4 separate regions of the Homo sapiens genome follow, and all the other regions are linked to region 1. Evidence: promoter capture Hi-C in 16 types of primary human blood cells and fetal thymus (Javierre and others, 2016). All regions are on one chromosome and are shown on one strand. Each heading gives the region's core, a stretch centred on a gene start or on the middle of the fragment in contact. The rest is flanking DNA. Distances are from core to core; before and after follow the strand shown.

The links. Contacts are between HindIII fragments. The CHiCAGO score rates a contact against its expected background, and 5 or more counts as called.
Region 2: a fragment that was not itself captured here is called in contact with the fragment with the promoter of ETS1-AS1 in region 1 in 2 of 17 cell types (naive B cells and total B cells); the score reaches 5.8 in naive B cells.
Region 3: a fragment that was not itself captured here is called in contact with the fragment with the promoter of ETS1-AS1 in region 1 in 8 of 17 cell types (neutrophils, total CD8 T cells, total B cells and 5 more); the score reaches 10.8 in neutrophils.
Region 4: a fragment that was not itself captured here is called in contact with the fragment with the promoter of ETS1-AS1 in region 1 in 11 of 17 cell types (total CD4 T cells, activated CD4 T cells, total B cells and 8 more); the score reaches 18.1 in total CD4 T cells.

The regions. Positions count from the first base shown.
Region 1 is chr11:128,524,863-128,527,465 of GRCh38, forward strand. It overlaps ETS1-AS1 (ETS1 antisense RNA 1), which reads left to right and starts at 1,280. Exons shown (of 4, transcript NR_120581.1): 1 at 1,280-1,453; 2 at 1,671-2,556. All of the region lies in intron 3 of ETS1 (ETS proto-oncogene 1, transcription factor), which reads right to left. The HindIII fragment of the contact is 5,425 bases long and covers 879-2,603 here.
Region 2 is chr11:128,241,580-128,244,182 of GRCh38, forward strand. No RefSeq gene overlaps it. Among named protein-coding and RNA genes, the nearest start is that of LINC02098, 34 kb to the left of the region's middle. The HindIII fragment of the contact is 9,586 bases long and covers 1-2,603 here.
Region 3 is chr11:128,795,539-128,798,141 of GRCh38, forward strand. The region is part of intron 5 of FLI1 (Fli-1 proto-oncogene, ETS transcription factor); the gene reads left to right. Among named protein-coding and RNA genes, the nearest start is that of KCNJ1, 70 kb to the right of the region's middle. The HindIII fragment of the contact is 4,733 bases long and covers 1-2,603 here.
Region 4 is chr11:128,263,850-128,266,452 of GRCh38, forward strand. No RefSeq gene overlaps it. Among named protein-coding and RNA genes, the nearest start is that of LINC02098, 56 kb to the left of the region's middle. The HindIII fragment of the contact is 4,564 bases long and covers 1-2,603 here.

The sequences.
Region 1 (2,603 bases), core at 30-2,529:
CTTTTCCCTTCATAGTAGAGCAGAACCTCTATCCCCAGCACTCACGTCCACTCGGTTACATGTATGCCTCAGTGTCCCCACCAGCCAAACAACAGCAGCCAAGCGTTGCCTTTCATCCACTTGGGCAAGATACTTCAATACCATATCTGGTTTTTAAGGCACTCAGGAAAAAAAAAAATCAATCAAATAAATACTTCTGTGCTTGTGCTTGTACTGCAGCAGTCTGTTCCTCCTGCATTTGGGAAAAAACAGAATTGTATTTTTAAGCATTCCTTAGACTTCGGCTAATTATATCCTACCAAGTGCTGAATTGCCTTACACTAGGAACGTGAAGTCAATAAGGGCCAAGAAAAGTCCGCAGGAGTTGGGGAACAGAAGAGTGGAGCTAGACAATAATATTAAGAAAATAGTCACCTTCATACAGGAATTCCTCAAGCACATGGAGTATGTAAAAAGCATACTTTCTTTTTTATTTATACTCCTCCCTCAACTCCACCCCAACTTCAATAAAAAAGAAATATAAATATACACTTAATGTTGAACAATCATGGAAGACAGACTTTCCCTCTCCAGAAGTGTCCTAGCATGTTATCTACTCCTGAGTCTTGAACTTCAACAAAACAAAGAATCTCTGAGTTTTGAGCTAAAATATGCTTTACTGAAGGTAGGTACAAAAACATTCAGACCACTAACGGCTGATCCAGAACCAGTTTATGACTCACAGATGTTGATTTACTGGTATAAATGTAAGATTTAGAAAAAAAAAAAAAAAAAAAAAAGCCCTCAATTAACAACAACCTGTCTGAGCTGCATTTGTGGTCTCATTTTTCTCTGAGAAAAGGCAACAGTCTCTGTCATACACAGAAACAAGCTTTGAAAGCTTACTTCTAAGGCAAGTGGTTTCTATGTGAGAAGTTTAGTCATTAAAAGTCACACTAGGGAAGAAAAATGCCTGGCACTTCAATATCTACATTATCAAGCAGCAATAAAATGGAAAATTAGAGATAGGAAGGAAAATTAAAATAACTCTCTTAATTAAACTTGGATGCCAAAAAGCCTTAGGGTCAGTTAAGGGACCCAAGCCAGGGGACTCAGATGGTACTGTTGCTGACTGCAGGCTGGCTCTGTGACCTCACCAAAGCCACTTAACCTTTTTGTGTCACAACCTCATCTCTGTTTCAGGGAATAAAATCAGCCCTAGCTCTCCCTAGAATGGAACACAGACTCATTGGCTATTGTTTAGAAGGCACAATAAACAATGAGGGTAGGAGGAGCTGCAGTCAGGAGGGAAGAAGGGAGGGTGGGGTGGGGTTGGGGGAGAGGGGAGGACTTGGGAGCCTGTTTGCCCTGGAAAGCTCAATATAAGAAAACAAAGAGGATAGTAGTGTGGGCTTTGGAATAAGACTCAGGTTCAAATTCTTACTCTACCAACTAGCCAGCTGAATTGCCACAGGTAAGTCATTTAAACAATCCCGAACCTCAGTTCCTCCATGTTTCAACTAGGGATAATAGCAGCACACACCTTTTAAGGCTATTTGAATGATTAAATGAGATAATGTATGCAAAGAATTTAGCACAGTGTCTAGGTGAGAATTAGTATTTGATTATTGTTATTAAGATCTAGTATACGGTAGAATATGTGGGAAATCACATTAAATGTCTGTCTACAGCCATCTCTTTGCAGAATAGCTTGGATGCTCAATTTTCCTGAACGATCTCCAGCGAGAGATAGAACAACTATCACCACATTTCATTTAAAAATCTCTTCAAGACCCTTCCTCAGTTCTTAAACTGGCAACCTGCCCAGCATCAGCCTCACTTGAGAAATTCGAGAACTACCTGATTGGAGAAGAGAACTAGATTTATATTTGTTTTGAGTCACAGAAAAGTGACAGTTTAAATTCTGAAAGAAGATCACATTTGTAGTGCCTCTTTGGAGACAAAACCTTAGGTCTTGGATTTGTCACATGTTAGAGCTCAATGGGAGTTTATCAGTGCTCTCCAAGTCCAGCACTCCTATTTACCAGAGGTGAAAAATGAGTGTGAGTGAGGAAATTATTATTTCCAGGGCCACACAATCTAAAAAAGTCAGTGTCAGTACTAGAACCAGATGCCCTGATAGCAGTTCTCTCCCTGGCATCTCCTTGCATTTACTTTGCATTTCACTTTGGCAGGAGAAGTACCAGACACCCTTGAGACACAAGACAGGATACAATGGACATGGGAGTAGATAGATGAGCAGACTCAATTTCTAGAAATCCAACTTCTCTACACTGGATGTATTGTCTTTGGGCAAATACATTGCAGGATAACCACACTATGGTTCCCTGTGGGAGACAGCTTGGCATGGGCTGTCAGGAGAGAAAGGGCCTGGGTTGGCTCTATTGCTGTCTGCAGTTTCTTTAGACTATAATTATGAACCATTCAACTGCATCTGCAGCCCCAACAATGTGGGGTGGATTGGCCTAATCCACAGACCAAGCGACATTTTAAAATCCAGCAGTTTAGACACGTATTCCTCTTGCAGCAAATCAAACATGGCTCAGACAGGAAGAGGTAAGGAGCTGCCCAAGGTTAGAGGGTTCTGAGGTCTCATCCACACT
Region 2 (2,603 bases), core at 32-2,531, 280 kb before region 1:
ATTCAAAGTTTTCACTGATGTGAATATTAGTTAACAGGAAAAAAGAACTCATAAAAACTGTTCCATACTTGTTTTACCCCAAAATGTTAATCCATGCTGTTATAGATACCCTGTGAGACACACAAATGCTTTTCCAACTCATTGATTTCAAATCAAAGGGCAAAATATACATTAGTAATGATGATATGCCAAAACGCTCCTTAATGTGAACATCAGTATTTACGTTTTAATGTCAGTTACAAAGATCCCTGGGCGGGCGCGGTGGCTCACACCTGTAATTCCAGCACTTTCGAAGGCCGAGGCTGGTGGATCATGAGGTCAGGAGATCGAGACCATCCTGGCTAACACAGTGAAACCCCGTCTCTACTAAAAATACAAAAAATTAGCCGGGCTTGGTCGTGGGTGCCTGTAGTCTCAGCTACTTGGGAGGCTGAGACAGGAGAATGGTGTGAACCCGGGAGGCGGAGCTTGCAGTGAGCTGAGACAGCGCCACTGCACTCCAGCCTGGGCAACAGAGCGAGACTCCGTCTCAAAAAAAAAAAAAAAAAAAAAAAAAAAAAAATCCCTAAGCAGAGATTTGGGATCCTTTATATTCATGAATCTTTAATTCAGGAGTTCAAGATACCACAAACCGGCCGAGTGTGGTGGCTCATGCCGGTAATCCCAGCACTTTGGAAGGCCAATGCAGGTGGATCACTAGAGCCCTGGAGTTAGCCTGGGCAACATGGGGAAACCCCCCGTCCCTACAAAAAACTACAAAAGTTAGCCAGGCGTGATGGCATACGCCTGTAGTCCCGGCTACTCAGGAGGCTGGGAGGACGGCTTGAGTCCAGAAGGTGGAGGTTATAGTAAGCCGTGAACATGCCACTGCACTCCAGCACGTGCAACAGAGCAAGACCCTCTCCTCTTCCTCTCTCACAAAAAAAAAAAAAGAAATCACAGAACTATATTACTGCATATTTGTTTGTGTACAATTTACTTTTAATGTGACAACTTCTAGTTTCCCAATAAACTGAAATCCTACACTGAAAAAATAAATCCAGTAACTCACAATTATGTGTTTTGGCTGGCCAAGCATGTTTATCATTTTAAAATAAAATACAGTGTTGCAAAAACAGTTGTAGTAGCTTGGCAATTGTGTTTCAGTACTGTAATGCATGGGTATCAGAAGAGATTGGGCAGATTTCAGCACATTAAGTTACATTTTATTATAGTTCATTACATTTAAGAAAAAATTAACTGAAAATGCCATTTTTCTTGTTATCAGCATGGAAAGGCCTCAGTATAATAAGTACCATGAATTGATTTATTGAGCACTTACCATGTGCCAGTCAATTGACACTGTTGTCACGTAGTCTTTTAACATGCCTGTGGAGTAGACAGATTATTTTTATTTACATTTATAGATGAAAGTGAGTTTTGGAGAGGTAAGGTAACTGTACTCAAGTTAAAAAAGAAGAAAAAAGGTAGTAAGTATAGTAAGTAGAGGTTCTGAGAATGAAACCCAGCTGCATATGATTCCTTAGACTATGATAACTTCTCTGCTATTGTCATTTGCACAAGCTGGCTAAAAATAAACAAATAAAAGGAGCAAAACTAAAACAAAGAGATCCCATGCACACAAGATGTGCACATAGACTCCTATACCTAAGGAATCATCATACACTAAAAGCTCATATGTTTCCAGGTATTTTTCCTGAAGAGTTGATGGAAATGTATCCTTTGAAGGGTATAATGTGCCACCAATCCTTACCATTCTCCTCCCTCCCATTGCTCTAGTGTCTTGTGTTTTGAGGTGAGTATCCTGAACCAGACCTCTGAGTAGCTGAGTCTGTAGGTAAAACACACATTCATATCATGGACCCTAAGGAGGCTGTGTGCAAATGTACCCTTTCATTTACACGCTAGATCAAAGGCTGTAAACATCATTCCTGAAGACGCATGTGATCATCTTAGCAATGCTGACGTGTACAAATGTGGATGAAGATCAAATTTGCTTAGAGTTGTCTTTCTTTAGCTATTTCTCTTTTAAAACCTATGCTTGGAGTTTTAAAAGAGTTCAAAGCAAAAGTTAAACAATTTTATACCAGCTCTCATCCAAGATAAGACCAGTAGCATCACCAACACAATCAAAATGGTCCCAAGCAATGTTCCATTTGAGAATTCTTTTACCACAAACTTTTAACCCTCATGTACTTCAGAGGAAAACATTTTGTTTATGCTTATTTCAGCAAACGTTACTGAGTAAAACTGATGGGCTCTTTAAGTTGTTTCACAAGGTTTGATTTTAAATCAAGATGCTATAAATTAAGAAGGCTTTTAAAAATTCAACTTTCTAAAGATGTCAAATTTTACTGGGTATGTTTAAAATCAAAGGAAATGTTCTAAATAATATTTCAACTTGCAAAAGATGTTCAACTAAAAACCTGATGGAAAATAGCCAAGCATGGACAGCTTTACAGTAGAGGGGAGATGAGGCAGGGCTTGTCAGGACTAAATGAGCTATGAAAATCATTCCAATGTGGGTTCCAATAATGGCTGCACAATTGCCTTCTATGAGACCTCTGCTCTTCATTGACTCAGAGGTCAACTTTTAAGAATGT
Region 3 (2,603 bases), core at 64-2,563, 270 kb after region 1:
GCGTTAGAATATAGAAAGCAATTTTTTTTTTTTTTTTTTGAGACAGAGTCTTGCCCTCTCGCCCAGGCTGGAGTTCAGTGACGCTCACTGCAAGCTCCGCCTCCCGGGTTCACACCATTCTCCTGCCTCAGCCTCCCGAGTAGCTGGGACTACAGGCACCCACCACCACGCCCAACTAATTTTTTGTATTTTTAGTAGAGACATGGTTTCACCATGTTAGTCAGGATGGTCTTGATCTCCTCACCTCGTGATCTGCCTGCCTCTGCCTCCCAAAGTGCTGGGATTACAGGCGTGAGCCACTGCGCCCAGCCCTAGAAAGCATTTTCATATGCATGGTGTCATTTATTCTCAAAAGATCCCTGTGAGGATCCAGTGTGCTATTTGCTTTTCCAAACTCTTAAATTTAGGAATAATCACACCACTCTCTCCCGCCCCTGCCAAGTATCTACCTTTTACAGAGAGGTTCAATAAGAGGTTCAGAGAGGTTAAGTCATTTGCCTCAGACCACACAGCTCATAACTGACAGAGATGAGAGGCAAAGCAAGGAGTTCTGACCCCCCAGCCCAGAGTTCTTTCCTTTGCAATGAGCCATTTCCCTGTTTGGAATGGATTCACGAGAAATTATGGAATTTCTTCCCATGAAGATCTTTAAGAGCCCTTAGTAACACCACCAACAGTCCTATGCTTGATAAATTTTAGGTATCACTCTTCCAAAGAGATGAAAATCATTCTTGGTATCATTTTGAAAAATCTTTGAGCTTAAGAAGTCTTCGGCCTTTTGGGCCTGTCTGCAAAATAATTATCAGCCCTGCCCAATACACTAGAGGAGGTTAGAGAGAGGCAGTTTTTTGCTATGAGTCATAATTTCAATTTCTATTAAAATTCTTACATGGCCACATATGCTACCTCTCAGGCTTTGGGCCTCTGGGCCTGTGCTAATTTGCATGTCTGGTTTAGATAATGTCTGAGGTCCTTCCAGTCTAAAAAGGAGCCTCTGATGCTGTGATATAATAAGTGAGATCACATTCCACCTACCAAGACTTGATGGTTCTTTTTCTTTTAACTACTGTGCTCTGTCTGATGTGTGGATGCACAGCTCAGGGACGGAAGTGTTTCCTGCTCACCTGCCAGGCCACAAAAGAAGGAGTGCTCTTGGCCGGGCGTGGTGGCTCACGCCTGTAATCCCAGCACTTTGGGAGGCTGAGGTGAGTGGATCACCTGAGGTCAGGAGTTCAAGACAAGCCTGGCCAACATGGTGAAACCCCGTCTCTACTAAAAATATAAAAATCAGCCAGGCATGGTGGCAGGCGCCTATAATACCAGCTACTCAGGAGGCTGAGGCAGAAGAATTGCTTGAATCCGGGAGACGGAAGTTGCAGTGAGCCGAGATTGCGCCATTGCACTCCAGCCTGGGGGACAAGAGCAAGACTTCGTCTCAAAACAAAACAAACAAACAAACAAAAAGAAGTAGTGCTCCTTCAGCATGAACTCACCTGTCCACTTCTGCTACACTGAACCCAGAGACTTGTCCTTTCCTGCAAAGCATTTCAGACATAGGTCAAAAGGCAAATCATGGGAATTGTTGGGATTTTACGTTTCTTGATTTGAATGGCCGTTCTAATTCAACGTGAATCCAAGACCACAGACTTGACAATCACCTGATTCAAAATATGTGAAAAGTACTTGAGTCTTTAAAATATGGGGTTCATCTCACCTTTTACTATTCCTCTCCCAAACATCAAAGAGATGCTGTCAAGTTTCTTAGCTAACTTTGCTATCCTACAACATAAAGCAACTCTCATGCATAAAAAACTAATTAAAAGGAATTGGCTTTCCAGAGGGACTTTGAGACCAATGTCAGCCAATCTGTCACTTTTCAAAATAAAATTATGGAACTATGTAGAGCTCTATTTTCATAATGTTAGATCAAGTCTTTGCTCAAATTCTATATTTTCAGAGAAGACCTCCCATCCCTGCACTGCCTACTTCCCTCCTCTGGTTTTCTCTTCTTCATAGCATTCATCGCCTTCTAATATACAATGTAATTTACTACTTGTCTTGAATGTCAGCTCCACAGAGGAAGGACGTTTGTCTAGCGATTGTTGTGTTCTCAGCATGTAAAGTGTCTGGCAAGGTAGTAGACATTCAGTAAAACATTGTTGAATGAATAAATGTGTGGTGGGACATAAGGCATCAATTAAATCCAATAAGTTGGTGATGGCGAGGGGCAAGAATGAATTTTTGAGAGAAACAAAGGTGCTTAAGATACAACCCCTCTTCCTAAAGATGATCACCTAGCGAGGGACACAAGCGTACAAAGAATTACACTCAAAGGCTAAGCAGGACACGGGCAGTAGACACAAGACAACTCACCAGTGAGCCTTGACCTGCAGAACTTTGAAAGCAAAGGACACAGAAGCTGAATGTTACGCAGACCCAAGAGTGTATCCCCTATGGCCAAGGAGAAGAAGGGCAACCTCGCTGTGAACATTGCAACCTATGAGGGTCGGAGCAGGGCAGAGGGCGTTGCGTATAAACTGCCTCTCATTTATCCTCAAGCCTGATTACCTAAGTGAACTGTTATGTTTTCTTCTTTCTACCTG
Region 4 (2,603 bases), core at 78-2,577, 260 kb before region 1:
CCAATTTTGAATATGAATATAGATGCAACACACATACAAATGCTAATGTGTGCATGTGTAGGCAGGTAGATAGATGGATAGACAGATGAATAATAGGAAAATAGATATAAGAATGTCATATATGCAGGAAGATTGTCTTCCCCTTTGCCTTCTATCCAAGATTAAAAATGTATTGTATATATTTTATGTTTATAGATTTTTTAATTTAAATTATAAACCAACCAGAATTTCCTTTATGTATAGCATTTAATATCAAAACCTAAGGATATATTCTTCTAAGTTTATTTCCAATATCTCCAACATTATTTAATATATTTCCCAGTGATTTTGAGACATATTTATCACATATTAATTTCTCATGTACTTTCAGATTTCTTTTTAGACTCTATTCTCTAACACTAATTTATTTGCCCCTTCCAGTGCCAAAATGTTTGCTTTACAGCTTGTACTGACCCACATTTACACTCTCATCTGACCTTTAGAATTAATTTGCATGATTAGTGCCAATATCTATTCCCCAGGGTGAAAAGTAATTGCCTTCTTGTTATAATTGCTATACAAGTTTGGAAAAAAAAAAAAACAGAAAAAAATAGCGATTGAAGCATCAACATGTATAAGGATGTTTAATCTCAGAGGCAGTATCAAGGCAGAGACTCATAGATCATCCCAACCCCAATGTATTTATACCTATAGCAAAATGCACATTTTTTGGCATTGAAGCTGAATGAATTTGCATTAAAAACATAAGTCTGCCATTGAATATGAAACATACTTGATTTCTCTGAGGCTCAATTTTTTCCTCTGTAAAATCAGAAAGATAATACCTTTCAGGATTGGTGTTTAAATGTGCTGTGTATCTAGCATAGCAGGTGCTCAACAGAAGTTAACTCCTTTATCCCTTCTAATCGTCAATTCTCAGTCACTTGTCCAGCTGTGTTTATTCAATTATATAACTTAGCATTATTATGAGAAGATTGCAGTTGATTTTATAGTGTTGAAATTGATATAACAGGAATAGGAATGTGGAAAGAAGGTCACACGCAAAGCACATCCTTGCTTTAAGGAGCTTACAGTCAAGTGGGTGAACAAAAATACTTCTTGCATGTTTTAAATAAAATAATCAAGAGTGATTTTATGGAATTTCTAAATATGTTTCTAGAGTTACACGTTAATAATACTTCTCCTTCTCTTAGATAACTTTAGTGGGGAAAAAAGAACAATAGGGTTTCCTCTAAAAGGACCTTCCCATGAGCCTCCATAGTTACAGTCAAGAGAAAGTCAATGAACAGATTTGTAGTTTCTCATACTTGGAACATAAGTTTTTGAACAGAAGATGAGAAAAATGAAAATAAAAGTGTATTAGTTAGCTATTGCTGTTATATAGTTCCATGATAAGCCATCTCACAACTCCCTTCAAATAAAGTAGTTTCTGTATGGATCCGTAATCCAGCAGCTAAAGCCACATACATTCCAAATTCATCATTCTGAGTTTCAAGACAAACCTGGATACTTCTATCTCTCGACAATGGCCTCAGTGGCCAAGGCACTGACTATATTTGCCTTGCCCCCAAAATGCATCTTTGCTCTACCTTCACATGGGTGGAACTGTCTTCCTCATGAGATAAAGCAAATAAGAGGCATTTGGGGGAGACCTGAAGACTCAGAAATCTCAATATTATTTCCACCTTGGGTTTATTTTTCTGCCTTTGGGGCATAGAATTTACATTCATCTAGCCTGCAGGTCTTCAAATTACTATACTCTTAATAAATTTATATTGTAGTTGACAGGCAGAAAGAGCCTCTTTTAGAAAGTCATATTTTCTTTCTTTTATGCATTCAGATATCCCAGAAGCCCACAATTCTGCAAAATGTAGCCAGCACTCTCCAATACAGTTTTACTTTTTACTAAATAACCAATACTACAGCCTTGGACAGCAAAGTTTAAATGCCAAGAAACAATAGTTCACAGTTTAACTAGTTGCTTTGATTCTGTATAACAAGAATTGTATACTTTCCAGACTAGGATACAAGGTTTCCTATTGCTTTCAATCCTACCTCTTTGACTAGATCCATTTCACACTTCTCTGTTAATTATAATGCCCCACTCCTGGCACAAAATTCTGAAACTGTTATTCTTCTTTTGGTTGCACATGTTGGAAAAGCCAACTAACGGTGGCTTATACACAAAACTAATTTATTATTCATGTAAGTATATTTCCAAAGATAATACTGGCTTAAAGTATAGCTTGATTCAGCACTTAATGAGGACCTGACTTTTTTCTGCCTTCAGCATTATTGGCTTTATCCTAAGACTGGCTTTTCTGGAGGTCTTATAATGACTGCCAATAGGTGCTGGAGCTGCATTTTTTTGTTGCTCAGCTCTGCATAAAAGTGAGCCTTTGCCAATCATTACCAGCAAATATCCAGAGATTCACTTTCTTTAAACAACTTAAATTACATCTCTACCTTGTTACCTACTCTGTGTGCAGGGAATAGATTGTATTGCTTGGCTTATCCCAGGTCATAGGGTGCGTCTGTGGATCTGGAGGTATGGTTGAATTACCCAGAACCAAATGGATTTCTAAACAGTGACTGGAAGCTCT